Linked DNA regions of Homo sapiens: region 2 is linked to region 1. Evidence: promoter capture Hi-C in 16 types of primary human blood cells and fetal thymus (Javierre and others, 2016). All regions are on one chromosome and are shown on one strand. The core of a region is centred on a gene start or on the middle of the fragment in contact, and the rest is flanking DNA. Distances in the headings are between cores, read along the strand shown.

Region 1 (5,278 bases), core at 406-2,905:
CATAATTTTTCACATTTACTTTTATTTATTTATTTATTGAGACAAACTCTCGTTCCGTCGCCCAGGCTGGAGCGCAGTGGCACTCTCGGCTCACTGCAACCTCCGCCTCCTGGGTTCAAGCGATTCTCCTGCCTCAGCCTCCAGAGCAGCTGGGATTACAGGCGCCCGCCACCACGCCCGGCTAATTTTTGTATTTTTAGTAGAGATGGGGTTTCAACATGTTGGCCAGGCTGGTCTTGAACTCCTGAGTTCAAGTGATCCGCCCCGTCTCAGCCTCTCAAAGTGCTGAGATTACAGGCTTGTGCCACCTCGCTCAGCTGGAAGGCATAATTTTTAAAGTGGTTATGACAGAAATTATATTGGAAAGGGGCCTGTAGTAGAAACATAGCCTCCGGGTAGACCAGGAAGAAAAATTAGATTCAGAAATGGCAGGGTTACTCTTTCAGCTTTACTCTTCTCCAACTGGGTGTCGGTGCTAGTCTACAAATGTGAATAAACATTAAAGCAGATAGGTATGCATGCCGGAATCCGAGAAGCATTCGTTTCGTATATACCAAGTGCCTGTTGCGTGTTCAGGTAGAAGACCATAGTGCAATGGTGGAGACAGATTATGTCGACAAATTATTCAAATACAGTGTACTAAATATGCAATGTAATTAGGAAAAAACCCGAGGGCAAAAAGAAAGGCATGACAATGCTTCGGGGAATCTGGAAAGGTTTTATTGGTGTGACATTTAAGTTGGGCCTTGAAGGATGGGGAGAAGTTTGTCAGTTATGTTTAGGAATGCAACCAGAGGAAGCCCAGAAGCCTAGAGCGTTAAGGAATTGCGCAGCAACTCAGACTGGATTGAGTATTGGGCTGTGTTTGTCAGATGCAATAACAGAATGAGAGGCTAGGAAGGCAGGTCGGGGGCTGGAGAGAACAGGATCTGCAAGGTTCTTGTAATCAGAAGGCAATATGGCACAGAGGTTAAGAGAACCGCTTCCTTCTAAGTCGCGCTCCATCACTTGCTAGCAGTATGATCTAGACACTGGCATGGGCTTGGGCGTACCCATTTGCAACATGGGAAAATAGTTTTTTTCTTATACGGCTTAAATGACTGAGTGGGTATCAGTCAGTTAGGGCAGCGTGCAGCTCATATTAAGGCTAAATGAGAATGTATTATCATCACGAAGCCAAACCACGCCAAAGCTCGTTTCTAGGAGGGTCCCCCAGCCTCCTCCCCCCTGCTACTGTTTGGGAAGAGAAAAGTTCTCTCGGGTCAGGCCGCGCCCACTCCCCACTCCTCCGCCCTCCTAGGCCTCCGACTTTCTTCAGCGAGCAGGGCCCGGCCAGGGAGTGGGTAGATGGGCCTGGTGGGCAGCGGAGACGCCGCCGCTTACCAGGGCTCGGGTCCCGCTCTTCGTCCTCCGCTGTTCCGCGGGCCTTGAAGCCGGGCGGCAGGGCCGGTCCGATCAGGTCTCTTGCCATCCGCGGTGGCGGACACTGGTCACAGATATGAGTCTATCCACGAACGTCAACCCTATCCAAAAAGAATCCCGCGATCAGCAGCGAAGAATGGCAGGTTTCCCGGCGCCGAGAAATGACGTAAAGCCTGTGGTTGGCTGAGCCTTGTAGTTCACGGTAAAGGAAGTGACGCCTAATGCTTGCTCCACAGTCGCGTGCTAGACTCCGGACCCGCCAGTGGTATGGCTGAGCCGACTAGTGATTTCGAGACTCCTATCGGGTGGCATGCGTCTCCCGAGCTGACTCCCACGTTAGGGCCCCTGAGCGACACTGCCCCGCCGCGGGACAGCTGGATGTTCTGGGCAATGCTGCCGCCACCGCCACCACCACTTACGTCCTCGCTTCCCGCAGCCGGGTCAAAGCCTTCCTCTGAGTCGCAGCCCCCCATGGAGGCCCAGTCTCTCCCCGGGGCTCCGCCCCCCTTCGACGCCCAGATTCTTCCCGGGGCGCAACCCCCCTTCGACGCCCAGTCTCCCCTTGATTCTCAGCCTCAACCCAGCGGCCAGCCTTGGAATTTCCATGCTTCCACATCGTGGTATTGGAGACAGTCTTCTGATAGGTTTCCTCGGCATCAGAAGTCCTTCAACCCTGCAGGTAGGCTATTTTTCCACGTGAGTCGACCCCTTTACCTTTTTCCCCCGTTCTTTCCTCTCCCCTTTCTCTGCTTCCTCTCTCTACTCTGCCTTGCCTCTGCACTCTTGGAGTCTGGTCATTAGCATCTCAAAGCAAAGTGAGACCCCCGTCTCTACAAAAAAAATAAAATTAGCCAGGCATGGTGGCATGCCTGTGGTCGCAGATGCATGGGAGGCTGAGGCAGGAGGATTCCTTGAACCCAGGAAGTCGAGGCTGCTTTATCAACTAAGTTTATATAATATTGTAAATCCTTTGTTCTCAAAATATGTCTGACTAGAATGTTTTCCTGTTGACTGTTAATTCCATTTAGCAGTTATTTATTGAATTCCGACTATGTACCAGAATCTGGGTATATAGCAGTGAGCAGAACATACAAAAAATATTATGGAGCTTAATATTATCTCTCTTGTGTAGGAAGACAGACAATAAGCAAAATAAAATATTGTGCATTAGAAGGTTGAGTGGCATGGAGAGAGATAAAACAAAGAAGAATGGTAAGTAGTGCAGGATTTTCTTTTTTTCTTTTTTTTTGGAGACAGAGTGTCGCTCTGTCGCCCAGGCTGGAGTGAAGAGTAGCGCGATCTACTTCACTCCAGCCTATGCAGTCTCTGCAGAGAGGCTCACTGCAACCTCTGCCTCCCGAGTTCAAGCAATTCTCATGCCTCAAACTCCTGAGTAGCTGGGACTACAGGCCCACGCCACCACACCCGGCTAATTTTTTATATTTTTAGTAGAAAGGGGGTTGCCCCGTGTTGGACAGGCCTGTCTCTAACTCCTGAGCTCAGGCATCCGCCCGCCTCAGCCTCCCAAAGTGTTGGGATTACAGGCATGAGCCACCACGCCGGGCCAGGTAGTGCAGTTTTAAATGTCATTGTTAGTCATAAGGAAGGTGACATATGAGCGAAGACTTTAGGGAGGTGAGAGATCACAGCCATGCATACAACTGGGAGAATAGGGGTACGGGCAGAAGGAACTGCAAGTGCAAAGGTCTTGAGGCTTAGAAGCTATACATCAGAATGGGAACCAGTGTGGCTACAGAGGACTGAGTCTGGAGTATAATTGTAGAAGATGGGGGAGGAGGGTAAGACCTGGTATGTCTTTGTAGATCGTGGGACTTTGACTTTTACTGTTGTGAGGTGGGTAGTACAGCGGATTGACATGACCTGATTTACGTTTTAAGAGGATTAATGTGTCTGTTGGTGAGAACTGACTGAAAGGGAAACCGGTTAGGAAGCTATTGTAGTTACTTTTCTAAACAAGAGATATTGGAGACTTGGACCAGGGTGAAGCCCAAGGGATGGTGAGAAGTAGTTGGATTCTAGATCTGGGGATACCTTGGAGCTCTTGTGGGTTCAGTTACAGACCACTGCAGTAAAGCAAGTCACACAATTATTTTTTTTTTGGTTTTCCGTTGCATGTAAAAGTATGTTTTCCTGCAGATCCTATGGGGCAAAAAAGTTATTTTTACATTATACCATAGTCTAGTAAGTGTGCAATACCATTATGTCTTAAAAAACAACTTACATACCTTGATTAAAAAATACTTTAGGCTGAGCAGGGTAGCTCACACCTATAATCTGGGCACTTTATTTATTTTTTTTTTTAATTTGTTGAGACAGAGTCTCTGTTGCTCAGGCTGGAGTGCAATGGCGTGATCTTGGCTCATTGCAACCTCCACCTCCCAGGTTGAGGTGATTCTCCTGCCTCAGCCTCCCGAGCAGCTGGTACTACAGGTGCCCGCCACCATGCCTGGCTAATTTTTGTATTTTTAGTAGAGACAAGGTTTCACCATGTTGGCCAGGCTTATCTCGAACTCCTGACCTCAAGTGATCCATCCTCCTTGGCCTCCGAAAAGTGCTGAGATTACAAGCGTGAGCCACTGCACCCAGCCTAATCTTAGCACTTTGAGAGGCAGAGGCAAGAGGATTGCTTGAGCCCAGGAGTTTGAGACCTGCCTGGGCAACAAAGTGAGACCCCCGTCTCTACAAAAAAAATAAAATTAGCCAGGCGTGGTGGAATGCCTGTGGTCCTAGAAGCATGGGAGGCTGAGGCAGGAGGATTCCTTGAGCCCAGGAAGTCGAGGCTACTTTATCAACTAAGTTTATATAATATTATAAATCCTTTGTTGTCATTTCAACAGTGTTCACAGCATCTTCACCAGGAGTAGATTCCTTCTCAAAAAAGCACTTTCTTTCCTCATCCATAAGAAGCCACTTCTCATCCATTAAAGGTTTACCATGAGATTGCAGCAAGTCACATCTTGTGGCTCCACTTCTTTTTTTTTTTTTTTTTTTGAGATGGAGTCTTGCTCTGTTGCCCAGGCTGGAGTGCAGTGGCTCGATCTTGGCTCATTGCAAGCTCTGCCTCCCAGGTTCACGCCGTTCTCCTGCCTCAGCCTCCCTAGTAGCTGGGACTACAGGCGCCCACCACCACGCCCGGCTGATTTTTTTGTATTTTTAGTAGAGATGGGGTTTCACCATGTTAGCCAGGATGGTCTCGATCGCCTGACCTCGTGATCCACCCACCTCAGCCTCCCAAAGTGTTGGGATTATAGGCGTGAGCCACTGCGCCTGGCCCCTCCACTTCTAATTGTAGTTCTCTTGCAGTTTCTACTACATCTGAGGTGACTTCCTCCACTGAAGTCTTGAATTCCTCAAAATCGTCTATGAGGGTTGGAATTTCTTCTTTCAAACTCCTGTTAATGTTGATCTTTTGACCTCCTTCCATAAATCATGAATGTTCTTAATGGTATCTTGAATAGTGAATCAAAACCTCCTTTCTAGAAGGTTTTTAATCTACTTTGCTCAGATCCATTAGAGGAATCACTATCTATGAATCACTGTGGATTTCTTTCAAGAACTTTTCATCCAGACACGGTGGCTCACGACTGTAATCCCAGCACTTCAGGAGGGCAGAGCAGGAGGATCCCTTGAGCCCAGGAGTTTGAGGCTGCAATGAGCTATGACTGCACCTTTATATTCCAGCCTGGCTGACAGTGAGACCCTTTCTCAGTAGTTGCATTCACAACTTGGCTAGCCGTTTGGCACAAGAGGCCTGGCTTTTGGCTTGTATCAGCTTTCAACGTGTCTTCCTCACTAAGCTTAATCATTTCTGGCTTTCGATTTAAAATGAGAGACA
Region 2 (5,247 bases), core at 1,976-4,475, 620 kb after region 1:
ACAATCCCATTGGGACAATTCACATAAACCTTACTCTATGGCTGGAAAAGGTGGGGAAAACTAGTAGTGATTCTGCAAATGACATGGTTTACTCCAAACATGAGTTTGCTACTTCTTGAGGCTCCAAAAATGTCAGGGAATGGCTTTCCCTGTGATTAAGATACCCGTAGGGTAACTCAGAACTCTGAAATTTAAATTCCCCCTTCATTCTGGAGAAGTTACTACTGTATAATCACAAAATGATTATTCCATTTCTCTGTTTCCTTTTTTTTTTTAGACGGAGTCTTGCTCTGTCACCCAGACTGGAGTGCGGTGGCGTGATCTCGGCTGACTGCAACCTCTGCCTCCCGGGTTCAAGCCATTCTCATGCCTCAGCCTCCTGAGTAGCTGGGATTACAGGCGCCCACCACCATGCCTGGCTAATTTTTGTATTTTTAGTAGATACGGGGTTGTGCCATGTTGGCCAGGCTGGTTTCGAACTCCTGACCTCAGGTGATCCATCCGCCTTGGCCTCCGAAAGTGCTGAGATTACAGAAAGTGCTGAGCCACCACGCCCGGCCTTGTTTCTTGGATTAGTCTGCTATCTGGGAGAATAATATTAATTTATCCGTAAGCTATTAGCTAATAATAAAATACTGAAGCATCTGCATACAATTAAAGAAGTTTATTTCTGAACAATTAGTCTGAATTTTCAGTTGGAATCTATACTTGTTCCCATTTAATGAATTTCATCCTGAATAGTGATCTTTTGCAAGTTACTTTTAACAAAGTATAATCATATTTGACTTGTAATTGAGAACATGAGATTTAGGATTTATCAAGTTTCTCTTTGAAAGAAAATTTCATTTTTCTATTGGATAGTAATCTATTTACAATAACATTAACCAAAATCCCCCCAACCAATGCAAAGCAAACATTGATTGTGGCTTGGTCTGGAAACCTTTCATTACAAATTTAGCTGGGCCATTTAAAAACTCTTATAGGTGCAAGGCACTATGAGAGTTTCTTGGGGGCCACCCCATGACATATCAGAGCATATTAAAATGAACTCATACTGTACATTAAATATAATTTAAATGTAGCTCTGAACATTGAGTTGAATGGCAGGTGACTGGTACCTTTTCTAGGTATTTAAACAATGTTTTCCCAATTTTTCCATTTTCTTCTTTTATTTTGGAGCTAATAATTTTTGTTTTGGGTCCCAAACATTTTCTAGTTTTCTTGAAGAACTTGAGGTGGCAGACACTGAGTCTACAGAACCTAATAGATACAACAGCCTTAGAAATTAGTTCTTGTTTTCTTCTTACTTTTGTAATCAGATAAGCTGTCAACTGAGATCTGACAACTGAACTCCGGTTTTTTAGTTCATGAAAAAGAGCCACATGACTAGTTATTTTTCACTGTGTCAGTTAGCAGGTCTGATCCCTTGAGAAGGAAGAATTGATCTCTTAGGGATATAAAACCCTGCATGCCTTAACATCAATTATAAGTTGCTTCTCAATGTCAACCCGGGCAGCCATTTTTTTTTCCTCAGTAAAAATAGGGAAAACATAAATCAATGTGACAAAATGGTTCCAATTTGATGGCATCTTGGCATTTTGCTGCCTAATCACAACTGAGTGATATAATTCCTAAATGAGAGAATTTTAAGGATTACTTAGGTCTTGTGTATAAAGCTCTGAGTAGAGTTGAGTTATGCTTAGACTTGTGTATAAAGCTCTGAGTAGAGTTGAGTTTGGTCCTAGAGTTTCTCTGCCGTAATACTGCTTGGTTTTGCAAGAATTCTGGTGTGATGATTACAGATCTAGCTTTTTGCTTAGTTAATCAAACCAATATAGTTTCTTTGGCTAAAAGGAATTGATTCATCAAATCTGCAAGCTTTCCCAGCCAAACTCCAGGCTTCAGCTGGATTTCCACTTAACTGTACGGGGTAACAGATCCCAGGCGCCTTTGCTCATATACTTGGAGACCAACTTCGCCAAACTACCCATGCGACTCATGCCTCTGAATGTCCAAAGTCACAGGCCTCGCATTTTCTGTTGATGATAATCTGCTTTGCTAAAAGAAACTCCTGAGTGTAAGGCACAGGTTTTACTTAAAAGTCCAGTTGCAAAGCTTGAATTTACAGTTCTAGGGACACCGAATGCCTGACAATAAACTGGTCTCTAAAGTTATACCATGAGAATGAGTCTGAATTCACCAAGTGGAAAGAATAGGAATGCTGCCCTTAGACTTTAGCCTAGGGGCTGAGGGAGGTCTCGCTGGAAGAGAGGTAAAAGAGAAAAAAGAGGCTGGAGGGAATGTGGGTCCAAATCTCACTCCCCATTTTGAGCTCTTTCCACACCTCCAGTGAAACCGTCACAAAGGGGCTGGAAAGAAAACTTGATCCTGGTGCAAGTCTGTTGGGGAGGGAAGACAGGTGGAGTCCGGGAGGAGATGACAAGTGGCCTCCATTTAGCCATTGATTCATTCATTCATTCAACAAACGTTCTAGAACATACTAGGTTCCAGGCTCTGTGTCATGCAACGTTCTAGAACATACTAGGTTCCAGGCTCTGTGTCATGCAGTTGACTTAACTGGCCCCTAAGGATGAGGCTTTCCGTCTTTCTCCGGGACAAGGCCCAGCTGTCTCCCGGGCAGGGGGACAGGGGGTGCGGGTCGGGGAGGAGGGCTCCTCTGCGCCTCCCTGGTAGCCCAGGTAGCCACTCCCAGAGGGGCCACGACCAACCAGGGCCCTCTCCGCCCACGAGGACGCCAAGCAGACCGCGCCGCCCTGAACCCAGCTCTCAGCCCCCACTCTGCAGGACCCCGCAGAAGGGGCGGGCCGGGAGCCGGGAGGCCGGACCCTGCGCCGCTACCCGCCCGGCCCCGCCCCCACCTTCCGCCCCACCCCGCCGGGCTGCAGGGCTCTGCCTGGCCGGCGCCGACCCCGCCTTACCAGGGTTTTGGCTACGTTCCCCCTCTGGGTGATGTTTTTGCTGTGCTTCTCGTTAGCCATCCGGATCCGCTGTTTGGCCACCATGGCTTGTGCGCTCTGAAATGCTCCCACCTGCAAGGATTCCCCCTGCGTTAGCTCCTGCGACAGGGCCGAGCGCGTCCCGCCGAGGCCCCCGCGGCCCACCCGGGCGCTGCAGGTGGCAAGGCGTGGCCCCGAGCCCTGCGCACCCCGCTCCCCGAGCCCCGGCTAGCCGACTCCAGAGAGAGGCCGCAGCCCGGACGGAAGTAATCTCTCATCTCAGGAAACCCTTTCCGACTTCCTCGCCATCCTTCCGGTCCCCGCAGCCACCTACCCCGCGCGGCCACCGAGGCAGGCGCGACCGCACGTCCTCCCGCGCCGAGCGGCCGGAGCGCAGCGCGCAGAGCCGGGGCCCTGCAGTGTCGCGGTCCTGTAGCCGAATGCTGCGGGGCCGAAGGTTCGGGCGACCACGGCGTTTGTGAGCGCGTCGGGGACGGGGACGCGGCCCCTCCTGTGTTTGTCGGCCGGTGACCCACCCCAGCCCCGGGGAAGGGATGAGGGCGGCCGCGCTTCAGGCCGGGCCGCGCGGTCTCCCCTGCACCGCCGCCCCCTGGACGAGGGCTGGACCCAAGGCGGTGGTCAGGGACCTCAGAACACAAGTAGAACCAGTCCAGGCCCGGGCCCGCGCTGCCCGGGTATGGTCCACCAAACGAGCCTTCTCTTTAAGGGTCTCGAGAAGGGCCCCACGCTGGGGGACCCCACTGCAGAACTTTTCGTGAGGGCTGCAAGGAGGGCCGCGTTGTAAAATAAAGAGGAGACACGAAGCGGCATCCCCTGAGGGTTGGGGATCGGGCCGTGAGGATGGAGTTGGGACAGGCCTTTTTGCTTTGGTAGTTGTAGGGGTTGCATTGGAAGATGGGCCAGCGGCAGAGCGGAGCATGCAGGAAAGAGGAAGAGGCCTTGGACCTGCAGCCCAGGTCGGATTTGGTGGTTACTGTCTAAATCTGAAGCTTTGGCCTGCCTTGACTCCCCACCCACCCAGGGCAGCTTGGACCTCTCTCTAGCCACCCTTGTCCCGAGGGGTCTGAGTGTCTCCCAGACTAAACTGGGCATTTTCTGCAGTGGAAGGATAAAAATGGAAGCGTTTACGCGCCTCCCAGACACTGGTATTAGGGCTCAAGAGCTCTACAGATTGCCTGGGGAGGTAGGGGTGGAAGGGGTTCAGTTCCTCACTTGGAGTTAGCTCTTAGAAGCTCAGAAGAGTGGAGGCGAAGAGGGGACATTCAGCCTGGGAGATCTGGGGCAGCGGGAAGTGGGGATACCGGGTCGGGGTGAAGGCAAGCAGCAGCACCCCCAGCATGGGGAAGAAGGCCTGAGGCTGTCTCTGGCCACTGCATCTCTAGGCCTTCTCTTGGAGCGGGAGGTGGCTGGGTTTCCAGGGAATTTTGTGTGAGTAAAATTTTCCCATGTCATTGGAGAGTTAGGAAGAGCTCCTCTTTTGGGGCCTTTTTCCAAGCGGGTCCCCCTCACCCCGCTACAGGCTTCTTGTCACTCAGGCTTCAATAAAGGCCATTCTGGGGGCTGCTTGCTGTAACCTAGAAGACAGAATTGCCTAGGATCATTAGTAGAGTCATTTTTTTTTTTTCCTACTCTACAGGCCAATTAATTTGAAACAAGCTTCTATGGTCTTTTAACTGTTAGCATCACCACTGTTGTAACAGGACCATAAACCCAGTCTGCCCCACTCTAGTCCCATGTTTTTAATAACTGTTGGCTCTTTTTTAGGGGTTTGGGTGGGGGGATTCCTACCTCAGTGATCCCTGCTGAGCCTGGCTGTTGTCTGTGGTCCAGAAGGTTCCTTTACCTGACTCACTCCTCTCAGATCATGTCCAAATACCAGGAGACTGACCCAGGTCCTCACCAGGTGAGTAGAGGTCTGGCTCTGAGCGACATTAAGGAAAAGACACAGACAGAGACTGTTTTCTCTTTGGGTCTTCACATTCAGTGAGTACAGTTCAGAAGTGTTCTTAACTGAGAGAAGCCCCTTTTGGGGAAAATTTTTCTTTACTGTTGACTCCTTTTTCCTGCTATGCTTCACTTTTCCGGCATTTTAAATTAGTTTGTTTTAATTATGAGTAGACTACATCTACACAGTAAATAGTCAAACAGAAATAGGATAGAAAATGAAAAGTAAAGGTCTCTCTTTCCTTGCCACCCTCCCCAAAAAGTTCCCACGGTTCCTGGGTTGCCCTTCCAGTATATACAAGACTATTTGTATATTCCCTTCTAA

The links. The method cuts DNA at HindIII sites, captures the fragments that hold promoters and counts their contacts. A CHiCAGO score of 5 or more calls a contact.
Region 2: a contact is called between the fragment with the promoter of SERP2 here and the fragment with the promoter of NUFIP1 in region 1, in 9 of 17 cell types (M1 macrophages, fetal thymus, endothelial precursors and 6 more). The highest score is 10.1, in M1 macrophages.

The regions. Positions count from the first base shown.
Region 1 is chr13:44,985,848-44,991,125 of GRCh38, reverse strand. NUFIP1 (nuclear FMR1 interacting protein 1) reads left to right here and starts at 1,655. Exons shown (of 10, transcript NM_012345.3): 1 at 1,655-2,101. The coding sequence starts at 1,690. GPALPP1 (GPALPP motifs containing 1) reads right to left here and starts at 1,588. Exons shown (of 8, transcript NM_018559.5): 1 at 1,384-1,588. The coding sequence starts at 1,471. RefSeq lists enhancers at 842-1,478, 1,405-1,594, 1,785-1,854, 1,479-2,117. The HindIII fragment of the contact is 7,208 bases long and covers 1-5,242 here.
Region 2 is chr13:44,371,802-44,377,048 of GRCh38, reverse strand. SERP2 (stress associated endoplasmic reticulum protein family member 2) reads right to left here and starts at 3,225. Exons shown (of 3, transcript NM_001010897.3): 1 at 2,940-3,225. The coding sequence starts at 3,023. LOC105370297 (a long non-coding RNA gene) reads left to right here and starts at 3,483. Exons shown (of 2, transcript XR_001749858.3): 1 at 3,483-3,652; 2 at 3,852-5,247. The HindIII fragment of the contact is 1,852 bases long and covers 2,118-3,969 here.